Regions from separate parts of the Homo sapiens genome. Here regions 1, 2 and 4 are each linked to region 3. The links are contacts of gene promoters, found by promoter capture Hi-C in blood cells and fetal thymus (Javierre and others, 2016). All regions are on one chromosome and are shown on one strand. Each heading gives the region's core, a stretch centred on a gene start or on the middle of the fragment in contact. The rest is flanking DNA. Distances are from core to core; before and after follow the strand shown.

Region 1 (2,700 bases), core at 92-2,591, 6.3 Mb after region 3:
CCTCCAGGCCTGGCTCCCCACCTCACACATTATGCGGACTTATTGCCTGGTGAGTAGTGGGGGCATTGCCTAAGCTGGAAACCTGGGGCACGGAGTCAGGGGGTGAGTATGGATTTTCTTTCCTCCTCCCTTTCAGGCTCTCCCTTCCACGTGGCTCTCCCACCACCTGAGTCAGAGCTGTGGGAAACCCCAGACGTGTCACTCATTACTGGAGATCTCCGACCCCCACCTGCCTGGAAGTCATCAAATGATCATGGAAGCTTGGCTCTGACCCCACGGCCCCAGCTGGAGCTGGCTGAGAGCAGTCCTGCAGGTAAATGTACAAGTCTCCACTCCCAGCTGAGCTTTTTCTCCAGATGCAGCGCACTCAGACTGAGCCCCCTCCCTCTACAGCCTCATTCCTTAGTTCCCGGAGCTGGCAAGGGCTGGAGCCCCGCCTGGGTCAGACGCCAGTGACAGAAGCTGTGAGTGGAAGACGAGGGATTGCCATCGCCTATGAGGATGAGGGAAGCGGCTGATACCATGTGGGGCTGGAGACATAGATGGACTTATGAATGGCTGCTAGGACCTTTAGTGCTCCCTGCACCAACCTCCCATCCCCCTGCCAAGATCCTTGAAGGACCCTGGAAGGAGGGAGAGCAGGCAGCCCTTCACAGGATAGGATCCGTCTCTGTCCTGTCCTGGCACTGGCACAAGCTCAGCACATGCCCAGTAATGCGTGTTGTTTGGCTGATGGAATAAAGGGCTTAGGGACTTCCCTGAGGCCTCTGGACCCATCTGTCTTCCTGAGGGCAGCCCAGGACCTTTGGCCAATCCCAGTTCCCAGGCTGCAGTTGAGGGTCTGTCCTTGTCAAAAGGCAGGTGCTAGACAGTCTAGACCAGGGTTTCTCAAACTCGTACTTGACATTTGGGGCCAGATAATTCTTTGTTGTGGGGCTGTCTGGTGTATGGTAGGGTGCTCAGCAGCATCCCTGGCCTCTGCCCACTAGACATCAGAAGCACTCCCCCAGTTGTGACAACCAAAAATATCTCCAGACCTTGGCAAATGTTATCTGTGGGGGAAAATTGCCCTCAATTGAGAACCACTGGTCTAGCTAGACCTGCACTGTCCAGTACAGTAGCCACTAAATACATGTGGCTAAACTTAAATTTAAGTTAATTAAGATTAAAAGCTCAGTTTCTCAGTCACATTAGTCATTCAAGTGTTCAGACAGCCACATGAGGGGACAGTGCAGCTACAGGATATGCCATCATGGCAGAAAGTTCTATTGGTTGGACAGCGTTGGTCTATACTGACTCTTATTTCTCAGGGAGATCACAGCAACCTAAATAAACCAGATACCTTTTCTCTTTGTGTTTCTTTTTAATTCATGAAATACTGCAGGTCCTGCACTGGTCCTGGGATGTAGATGTTAACTGTATTTAACCAGATTCCTTTCCAGTGTACCTGGAAAGAGAGTTAAATACGCAGTCAGTACACAGTGAAACAGCTCTATCTGGGAGGAGGGAAGCCCCAGGGACAGCTGGATCCCACAGGAGATACCTGACAAGGACTAAGAGGAGGCTTCCCAGAGGGCATAACACCTATGCTGGATCTTTTGGAGGAAAAAATAATTGTCAGGAGAAAAGGAGTGAAAAAGACCTTTGGGCTTAAACATGAACCAACATGGCGGATGCTTCAAGCAAGTGGGGTTGCTGGGCCCTAAAGGTGGAGAGGGGTGAAATGAAAAGACTCGCCTCTTCTTCCCCACATTTGTTGAGAATCTGGTCACAGTGGCATTGTCGAGGGTATTGAAGGTGAACAAAGGAGATGTGGTCCCTGCCCTCAGGGAATGCCTAGTCTAATGGTGGAGGCAGAGCTGTAAGCTAACAAGGTAACCCAGACAAAGTGGGCATCAGTCATGTGTTCTACAAATATGTACTGAGGACACACTCTGTGCCAGGTACTGGAAATACAGCAGTGAGCGACACAAAAGCCATGGTGCTTCCACTCTTCCAGGGGAGTTGGACAAATAAAATACTTAGTATGCCAAATGGTGATCAGTAAGTACCGTGAGAAATGTAAAGCTGGGAAGCAGAGGAGCGTTTAAGTGGGGTGGAATATTAAACAGAATGGTCAGAGAAGGCCTTTTCAAGAAGGTGAGCAAAAACTGAAAGGAAGTTACAGGATGAGCCGCATGTATAGTTAGGAGAAGCAGAGAGAGCAAGTGCAAGGGCAGTGAGGTCGCGGTATGGTTGGCACGTTCAAAGAAATAGCAAGGAGGGCAGTGCAGCCAGAGGAGGGAGTTAGTGGGGGAATATTAGAAGGTGAAGTCAGCTGAGGGGCGTGGGGAGCCTAGCAGGCTATTGTGAGAACTTTGGCTTTTCTCCTGAATGAAATGGGAGCCATCAGGGCATTTCGACAGGGTAGTGACATCTTACTGAAGCTTAATAAGCATCACCAGGACATCGCGGGAGCCCAGCAAACGCGCTTCCCTGCCACTGGGTTAGGGAAGGCTTGCCGGAAGGACGATTTCGGAGGACAGCAGGTGTTAGCCAGGCAGCGGAGCGAGCGCCAACAGGCGCACTGGGGCGGAGAGACGCCGTGAGCAAGGTGAGGCAGAGGGCACGCGCGGCGCCACCCGCCACAGGCTAGGACGCACGGCTGCCAGAGAGGACGCCTTAGGGGCCCGCGAGCAGGCTCGGGAATAAAACAGGGCT
Region 2 (2,700 bases), core at 44-2,543, 7.0 Mb before region 3:
CTCTCAGACTCTCCCGCATCACAGAAAACTCTGGCACCCAAAACTCACGACACAGAAACATGTGTAGGTTTTCTGGGAGCTCTCCTTCCTGAGCTCTGGGCCCTCCTTGGTCCCTGCCAGGATTCTGCCACATAAAAGGGCTCTGTTGTTTTTTGTGTGTGCGGTTTTTTTTTTTGTTTTGTTTTTTTTTTGAGACGGAGTCGTCTCGCTCTGTCGCCCAGGCTGGAGTGCAGTGGCACGATCTCGGCTCACTGCAAGCTCCGCTTCCCGGGTTCACGCCGTTTTCCTGGCGCAGCCTCCCGAGTAGCTGGGACTACAGGCGCCCGCAACAACGCCCGGCTAATTTTTTGTATTTTTAGTAGAGACCGGTTTCACCATGTTGGCCAGGATGGTCTCGATCTCCTGACTTCGTGATCCGCCCGCCTCGGCCTCTCAAAGTGCTGGGATTACAGGCGTGAGCCACCGCGCCCGGCCATAAAAGGACTCTTAACATCGCCTCTCCCCAACTCCCTTAACCTGGGGCTGGAGACCCTCCTCCGTTATCAGGCTCCGCCCCAGCTACGGCCCCACCCCTGGTGCTGGCACCACCTCAGTCTAATCCAGGTTCCACCCCCAATCCACCTAAGCCGTGTCCCTAGCCCTGGCCCCGCCCTGATGTTGCCGTGTAACTCAGTTCCCGCCGTTTTATAGGCTACCGCCCCAGCCAGGCCCCGCCCTCTGATGTGGCCCCGCCCCCCGACGCTGACTTTTTCTGTCTTCACTTTAGCGCTGGCTCCGCCCCTAGCCTTGGCCCGCCTCAGCGCGGACTCTCAGTCTCTGCGCCTGCCACGGCCTCGTCCCGCTCAGCCCTGGCCCTGCCCCTGGAGCCGACTCTCTCCGCCTCCGCCCCGGTCCCGCCCTGGCACTGACTGTCTCCGTCTTCGCCCCTGCCCTGGCCCCGCCCCCTGCCTGCTCTGGCCCCGCCCCGCCGCTCTCTCCGTCTCCGCCCCTGCCCTGGCCCCACCCTTGCCCCGCCCCGGCGCTGACTCTCTCCGTCTCCGCCTCCGCCCCCGGCTCCTCCCCGGCCCCGCCCCGGCACTGACATTCTATCTCTCTCCCGTCTCCGCCTCTGCCCCCCCCCCGGCCCCGCCCCTGCCCTGCGCCGGCGCTGGCTCCGTCTGCGCCTCAGCCTCGGTCCCGCCTCCAGCCCTGGCCCCGCCCCGCCGCTCTCCCCTTCTCCGCCCCTGCCCTGGCTCCGCCCCCGCCTGCCCGCGCACCGCAGAAGGCCTCCTGGAACTTCCTGGACAGCTTCTCGATGACGCTGTAGCTCTCCACGTAATCGACGTGTTCGTCCTGCGGCTCGCTGGCGATCTGCCGCAGCGTGGCCTTGTCCACGCTGCCCACTCCGATGGCGAACAGCTCGACGCCGCTGGCCCGGGCCCGCGCAGACACGTCCTGCACGCTGTCCTGGGGCCTCCCGTCTGTCACCACGATGACCACCTGCGACACGCGGGGCGGTGTGACACCGGGCTCCCGGAAGCCCACGGGACTGTCCAGGAGAGGAGGCTGAGGCCCGGAGAGGCGGGAGGACTGCCGGGTCGCACAGCCAGGCGGCACCCGGGGGAAGAGGACCCGGCTGGCCGAAGAGGAGACCCGTTTCCTCTGACTGAGAGACGTGGCTGGGGGGCTTTCCATCTGCTTCGCCTCCCTCGGGCAGGCAGCTCTGAGATGCCCGGAGGGATGTGATGCCCCATCGCCAAATTGGGGTCTCTAAGGTCAGGGCCATGCCTTCCCCTCAGACTGAGGCGGCTGAGGGCAGGGTCCTCAGGCTGATGGCTGTGGGAGTCGTGCCACGCCCCTCGTGCCCCCGGGAGGCCCGGCCGGGGCTGGGTGGGGGGATCCGGTGGTTCCACATGGTGCAGTTCTGCGCTTTGGCCACCAGATGGCAGCCGAAGCTAAGGGATGGGGCTGCCGTCTCCCGTCTTGCTGTCCTTGTCCCGGTAAGACCGGGGACCCTGGACCAGGGAACCGACGGAGGGCCACTCCCATGTGGATGCCCAAGGGACCAACCCAAGAAAGATGCCGCCCTTATCCTCCTCCACTCCCCGGTATGATACATGCCCCTGCCAGAGAGGGAAAGAATCTGCCTGCTCCCCTCCCACTAGGCTCCTCTGGTCTGTACCCTGGAAAGAAAGAGGTGGCGGACTCTGTCACTGAGATCCGGCTTCGTGACCCCCTGTCTGCACCCGCCCTGAGGCTAGGGCGCTCCCAGCTCTGCCCAGTCTGGGTTAGGCATCCAGTCCCGCTTTGCTGCTTCTCTGCTTCTGACTTGGGTCTGTTTCTGATTCCTGGGTCCCATCCTTAGCCCCAGGTCCTGACACCCTGTCCTGATGACAGGCAGTTGAGACAGGCCGTGTTTAGAAATGCAGCTCCACAAGCTACAGGTCACCTTCCTGAGCCTCAGTGTCTTCAACTGTAAAAAGGGTTGTGGTGAGGTTGAGTGAGATGACTCCTGGTTAGAAGCCAGAAGGGGCAACTATTATTTTTACCATCATTACCCTGGGCTACCTGGGGAGTGACTTTGTACAATCTCTTCCTCTCCAGGGGCCTGGGCTCCTGGCTCTGAAAATCTAGCTGTGACTATTCGCTGCCATCCCGAGGCCCACTGCCTCCTCGAGTCCCTACTCCCCTCCCTGCAACCCAGCTTTCAGATTGTCCACC
Region 3 (2,700 bases), core at 185-2,684:
CACCCAGCAGACTGGGGTGTCACCCCCACTACCCACTGCCCAGGGCTGACCTCGGGCGGAAGAGCGACATTCAAATATTTGTTGCATATGGAGCAACAGACCAGGGTGGAAGAGAGAGAAAGGACTTTCCAGGAAGGTCCAGGCTTGCCAGGACTTCTATGCTTGGACTGCTCTGTCCCCAAGCTCGCTGGTGCCCATCAGGAGCCTGCTTGGCACCTTTGCTTATTTCTTCGATTGTTCCTCAACTCAGAGGGGGAGAGGCAAGATTATCACTCCCATAGCCTATAACATGCACGCTTAAACACAACCCCTCTGACATGGCTTCAGACCGCATCCACAGGTGAAAAGCACCAAATCCAAACAATCAGGCCACAAACCCGTCAAGAGCTCGCCGGTCTGGCCGTCCAGTCGCCGCCCGCCTTGAGACTCAGCCTGAGCTACAGCTTCGAAACTAGCCTCTAGCCTTCTGGGTCTCAGCACAACTCTTGAGCAATCCAACCCTGTGGCCGTGGGCAGATACCAAGATGCACAGTTAGCACCTCCGACAGGACCGCGGCTCGGCGGGGCTCGCCGTCTACACGCCCATTCCCAGGCCCACGGCCACGACACCCAGAGCTGCCTCCTGCCCTGGGCTCCCTGGAGCCTGGTGGCCGCGGCTCATGCTGCAGTCACCGTGTGGCCAGCTGCCAAGCGCCACTACTTGCACCTGAAGTCGCAGCCCCGCGCTGCGCACCCAGTCGAGGCGCCAACACGCGAACTGGGCGGGAGTGGCCGGCCCGCGGGGGAGCGAGGAACGACAGGGTTCCCCCCACTCGCTGCCCAGACTGGCCGCGGGATAGCGCGCCCCCCCCAAAGCCTGCACCCCTGCCCTGCTCCTCTATCATTCCGTCCCCCTTGCTCTGTCAAACCCTGCCGGGGCTGCTCTGTCTCTGCCGACCCGCCACTTGCCCGAAGTTCGGCCTGAGGAGCTTGGGGCCCTGAGGAGCGCCGACGTAGGCAGCCAGCCAGTCAATCAGTCAGAGGGTCACGGCGGCCCCTCGGCTACTCAGTGGCAGCCAGGCCAGAAAGAAGCAGCCGCCAACCCTGGAGCAGAATCCTACAGCCGACCTGACCTAGTAGGCCCCCAGCCCTCCAGAGCTTGGGGTATTGCAGAGCCGCCACAAGGCCTGCCGGGAGTAGTAGTTTGTATAGTTCGCAGCCGGCCAGGGCGGAGCCGGGTGGGTTGGTGGGGAGGGCGGGGAAACAAGCCTGGACCACAACTCCCAGGAGTACCCGCGACGGCGGCGGCCTCGCTGTCGCACTCAGGCTATAGGGGGCGCATTGGGCGGAAGACCCTGGGCCGGCAGGAACTTGCTTGTGATTGGATGTTGTGGGACGGCGGCTTCTCATTCGTCAGCCTGTGACTGTGGAGTTTGAATTGGGTGGCGGTTGACTGTAGAGCCGCTCTCTCTCACTGGCACAGCGAGGTTTTGCTCAGCCCTTGTCTCGGGACCGCAGGTACGTGCCTGGCGACTTCTTCGGGTGGTCCCCGTCCGCCCTCCTCGTCCCTACCCAGTTTCTTGCTTCCCTGCCCCATCTCCGCCGCTCCCCGCAGCCTCCGCCGAGCGCCATGGCTCCTAGGAAGGGCAGTAGTCGGGTGGCCAAGACCAACTCCTTACGGAGGCGGAAGCTCGCCTCCTTTCTGAAAGACTTCGACCGTGAAGGTAAGGGGCCAGGCCGTCGCGGCCTCCTGGGGCGGTCGCGGGATGCTGGCGGGTGGGGACACGAGCTGCACAGATTCGCCCGCCCGTGACCCGTGTCCTGTCGGCTCTGCCCTCCCGCAGTGGAAATACGAATCAAGCAAATTGAGTCAGACAGGCAGAACCTCCTCAAGGAGGTGGATAACCTCTACAACATCGAGATCCTGCGGCTCCCCAAGGCTCTGCGCGAGATGAACTGGCTTGACTACTTCGGTAAGAGCTGGAGAGCTTCCCTGGGCGGAGGCCAGGAGCCCCTTGGGGTTAGGTGACACCCTTCAGAAAGGGCTCGCTCAGATGTCACCTTTTAATGAGATCTGACATGACCACTTATGGAAAATTGCAGACCCTTTCACTCTCTGTCTCACTTCCCTACTTCATTTTTCTCTATGAAAAATGGGGGGGTGGTTGGGGGGCGGCGGGCGGGGCGGTCTCTGTCGGACAACTCAGCTCTGCTGTTTACAGGTCCAAAACAGCTGTAGTGAATGGGCATGGATGGGCTGTATTCCAATAAAATTTTAGTTATGGATACACTGAAATGTGAATTTCACATAATTTTCACACATCAGGAAATTTATTTAATTTTTTTTAAACAGAGTCTCACTCTGTCACCCAGGCTGGAGTGCAGTGCAGTGCAGTGGTGCGATCCCTGCTCACTGCAACCTCCACCTTCTGGGTTCAAGTGATTCTCCTGCCTCAGCCTCTGGAGTGGCTGGGATTACGGTCGCCTGCCACCATGCCCCGCTGATTTTTGTATTTTCAGTAGAGACGGGGTTTCACCATGTTGGCCAGGCTGGTCTCGAACTCCTGACCTCAAGTGATCCACCTACATAGGCCTCCCAAAGTGCTGGGATTACAGGAGTCAGCCACTGCGCCCGGCCAGAAAATAGTATTTTTAAAAATATATGTATATTTTACCCATTTAAAAATGAATGAATAAATGACATGGTTAGTTAACCAGAGC
Region 4 (2,700 bases), core at 199-2,698, 8.5 Mb before region 3:
CATATCCCATCACAGCATTTACCCCACTGGACTATGGCGGCCTTTCTCCTGGATTAGGCTGTGAGGCTCTGAGGGCAACGACCACAACAGATTCAACTCTGTACCCTCAGTGCCTTGCACTCAGTAAACTCTCAAAGAATACATGCTGGCCAACTTACTATATCAATGCCTTCTGTTCCCACTCCATTCATGACCACAATAAAGAGCTCTAAACAGAGCACCAAACCCAAAATGCTATTTTTTCCCCAAAGTACTAAAATGTGGGTTTAAAAATCAAGTCACCTGCAGTTTTGCTTTATATTAACTGTAAAAAGAAGAAATTCCTGAGAGTAAACAGTGCCCTATAGTGAGAATGGACAGACTGGGGCCCCACTACCTGCTCCTCCAAAGTCCATCTGGCTTAAGACAGAATGGGTAGGCCGGGTGCCGTGGCTCATGCCTGTAATCCCAGCAATTTGGGAGGCTGAGGCAGGTGGATCACCTGAGGTCAAGAGTTCAAGACCAGCCTGGCCAACATGGCGAAACCCTGTCTTCACTAAAAATACAAAAATTAGCTGGGTGTGGTGGCACGCGCCTGTAATCCCAGCTACTCAGGAGGCTGAGGCAGGAGAATCACTTGAACCTGGGAGGTGGAGGTTGCAGTGAGCCGAGATTGCACCACTGCACTCCAGCCTGGGGGACAGAGCCAGGCTCTATCTAAAAAAAAAAAAAAAAAAAAAAAAAAAAGACAGAACGGGTATATGTCCACGGGTTTCCAGCTCCAGCTTAGTTTCATTGTTGTACTAGCAGCAGGCAGGTGAGAAAGCCAAGATGATCAGGATGCTGTTTTACAAAAGCCTCGGGATCCTGAAAAGGGGAGGAGACAGAGAATGGTATTTCTAAACTTTCCCAGGATTGGGGCTGCCCTTTCTACAGCGTAGAAATTTGGGGTTACCTGAATGACCTACAATTTCACCTTCTCTTCTGACCTTTTTCCCAATTTTATAGTCCATCTCATTCTCAAAAATCATTTGAGACTTTGGGAGGTTGAGGCAGAAGGATCGCTTGAGCTGAGGTGTTTGAGATCATCTTGGGCAACATGGTGAAACCCCATCTATATTTTTTATTTAAAATATTTAAAAAAGTTTATTTGAAGAAATCATTTGAGGTGACTGCTGTTGTTTCCTCAGGCCTATGTCTATATCAAGGACTTTTAATAAAGAAGGGGCATCCTAGCTGTAAGATCTCGGATAAGTGCCTTTCAATCTACTTGAGCTTCAATTTCCTTATCTGTAAAGTGGAAGTAATAATAACCAAACTGGAGTGTTTTGATTTTAAAACCCCGTAATATACAGGGAGCATTTAGTCCAATGCTTGCTATACAGCAGGTATACAATAAATGAAAGCTGTTTTCACCAGAAGATCCAGAGAATGGCAAAGTTCTGAGCGGACTTTCAGGAAAAAAAGAAGGCAAGAGAAGAACTAAGCGTTTCTGGGAACTATCTTTTTTTTTTTTTTTTTTTTTTTTGAGACACAGCCTCACTCTGTCGCTGAGGCTGGAGTGCAGTGGTGTGGTGCAATCTCAGCTCACTGCAACCTCTGCCTCCTGGGTTCAAGCGATTCTCCTGCCTCGGTCTCCCGAGTAGCTAGGATTACAGGCATGCACCACTGTGCCCGACTAATTTTTGTATTTTTAGTAGAGACAGGGTTTCGACATGTGGCCAGGCTGGTCTCGAGCACCTGACCTCTGGTGATCCGCCCGCCTCGGCCTCCCAAAGTGCTGGGATTACAGGCATGAGCCACCATGCCTGGCCCCTGGGTTTCTGGGAACTATCTGATAGGGAATCTAGAACTCTGCACAAGGGACAGTGGCTATGGAGAACTCTGAAATTTCTCAAATGTTTGTCATTCTTCTGCACAGTCTTACTTTACTTAGATCTACAGTTTAATCTTTTAAATAAAAAAGGCCCAAATACTTATTTAGGGAATCCCATTTTGGAAGAAAGGGAAAGAAACTAAGCAACAGGGGAAAATGGCTTAGGAGAGAACAGCTGCAATGTTTGGAGGCCAACAGGAATGAAAACAGGGACGTGAGAACAGGAGAAACCTGGAGGCCTCCTTTTGAGGATTCAGACCTGAGAAGGCTGTTCCTCATTCCTTCCCTCCTGCTTGCAGAGGTGTGGCCCACAGCGCAAGCATCACAAACCACACTAGTTCTGACAATGCTCTGTTCAGACTCTAGGTAGTCCCATGACCCCTACCTGGTGTAACCTGACCCAGACAGCCAGTTACCAGGATGTGTAAAGGACACCTGATTCTTTCTGTGACAGTGTGGTTACCCTAAACCTTGTAAGACATGACTACAAAGAGAATCCCAGTCTCTGGCTTCAGTCCATACGAGAACAAGTAAAGCCGCCTGAATCTGGGTCAGAAAGTAAAGTTGCCCTTCTGGAGCACGGAGAGAATTACTGCTTGTCTGACAATCTGTATCCACAAGGCAGTGGTTCTCAAGCCTGGCCTGGGCAGCAGAGTCACCTGGAGAGCTTTGAAAAAAACAGAAGCTCCAAGCCATCCTAGACCTACTAAGTACCTCAGGAGTGGGGCCTAGGAATACATACGGTAGTTTCTAAAAGCACTACAGGTCAAGCTGGGTGTGGTGGTACACACCTGCAATCCCTGCTACTCAGGAGGCTGAGGTGGGAGGATCCCTTGAGCCCAGGA

What was found. The method cuts DNA at HindIII sites, captures the fragments that hold promoters and counts their contacts. A CHiCAGO score of 5 or more calls a contact.
Region 1: a fragment that was not itself captured here is called in contact with the fragment with the promoter of CDCA8 in region 3 in 6 of 17 cell types (naive CD8 T cells, fetal thymus, naive CD4 T cells and 3 more); the score reaches 14.0 in naive CD8 T cells.
Region 2: a contact is called between the fragment with the promoter of MATN1-AS1 here and the fragment with the promoter of CDCA8 in region 3, in 2 of 17 cell types (total CD4 T cells and activated CD4 T cells). The highest score is 6.1, in total CD4 T cells.
Region 4: a fragment that was not itself captured here is called in contact with the fragment with the promoter of CDCA8 in region 3 in 4 of 17 cell types (naive CD8 T cells, total CD8 T cells, naive CD4 T cells and 1 more); the score reaches 7.6 in naive CD8 T cells.

What each region holds. Positions count from the first base shown.
Region 1 is chr1:43,972,022-43,974,721 of GRCh38, forward strand. It overlaps DPH2 (diphthamide biosynthesis 2), which reads left to right. Exons shown (of 6, transcript NM_001384.5): 4 at 1-49; 5 at 137-313; 6 at 394-1,348. The coding sequence ends at 518. It overlaps LOC124904167 (a long non-coding RNA gene), which reads right to left. Exons shown (of 2, transcript XR_007066053.1): 1 at 2,422-2,700; 2 at 1,344-1,866. Among named protein-coding and RNA genes, the nearest start is that of ATP6V0B, 1.6 kb to the right of the region's middle. RefSeq lists enhancers at 1-861, 2,092-2,700, 2,508-2,627, 2,678-2,700. The HindIII fragment of the contact is 2,166 bases long and covers 259-2,424 here.
Region 2 is chr1:30,717,479-30,720,178 of GRCh38, forward strand. MATN1-AS1 (MATN1 antisense RNA 1) reads left to right here and starts at 1,294. Exons shown (of 4, transcript NR_034182.1): 1 at 1,294-2,087. MATN1 (matrilin 1) reads right to left here. Exons shown (of 8, transcript NM_002379.3): 3 at 1,257-1,479. RefSeq lists silencers at 517-696, 737-1,256, 1,817-1,906 and enhancers at 1,317-1,486, 1,584-2,159. The HindIII fragment of the contact is 4,958 bases long and covers 1-2,700 here.
Region 3 is chr1:37,691,082-37,693,781 of GRCh38, forward strand. It overlaps CDCA8 (cell division cycle associated 8), which reads left to right and starts at 1,435. Exons shown (of 10, transcript NM_001256875.2): 1 at 1,435-1,703; 2 at 1,824-1,952. The coding sequence starts at 1,610. It also overlaps a transcript of AIRIM not described here. RefSeq lists enhancers at 176-686, 687-1,196, 969-1,158, 1,197-1,707, 1,708-2,216 and silencers at 489-548, 569-738. The HindIII fragment of the contact is 4,527 bases long and covers 1-2,700 here.
Region 4 is chr1:29,225,470-29,228,169 of GRCh38, forward strand. The region is part of intron 1 of MECR (mitochondrial trans-2-enoyl-CoA reductase); the gene reads right to left. Among named protein-coding and RNA genes, the nearest start is that of MECR, 4.1 kb to the right of the region's middle. The HindIII fragment of the contact is 3,518 bases long and covers 1-2,700 here.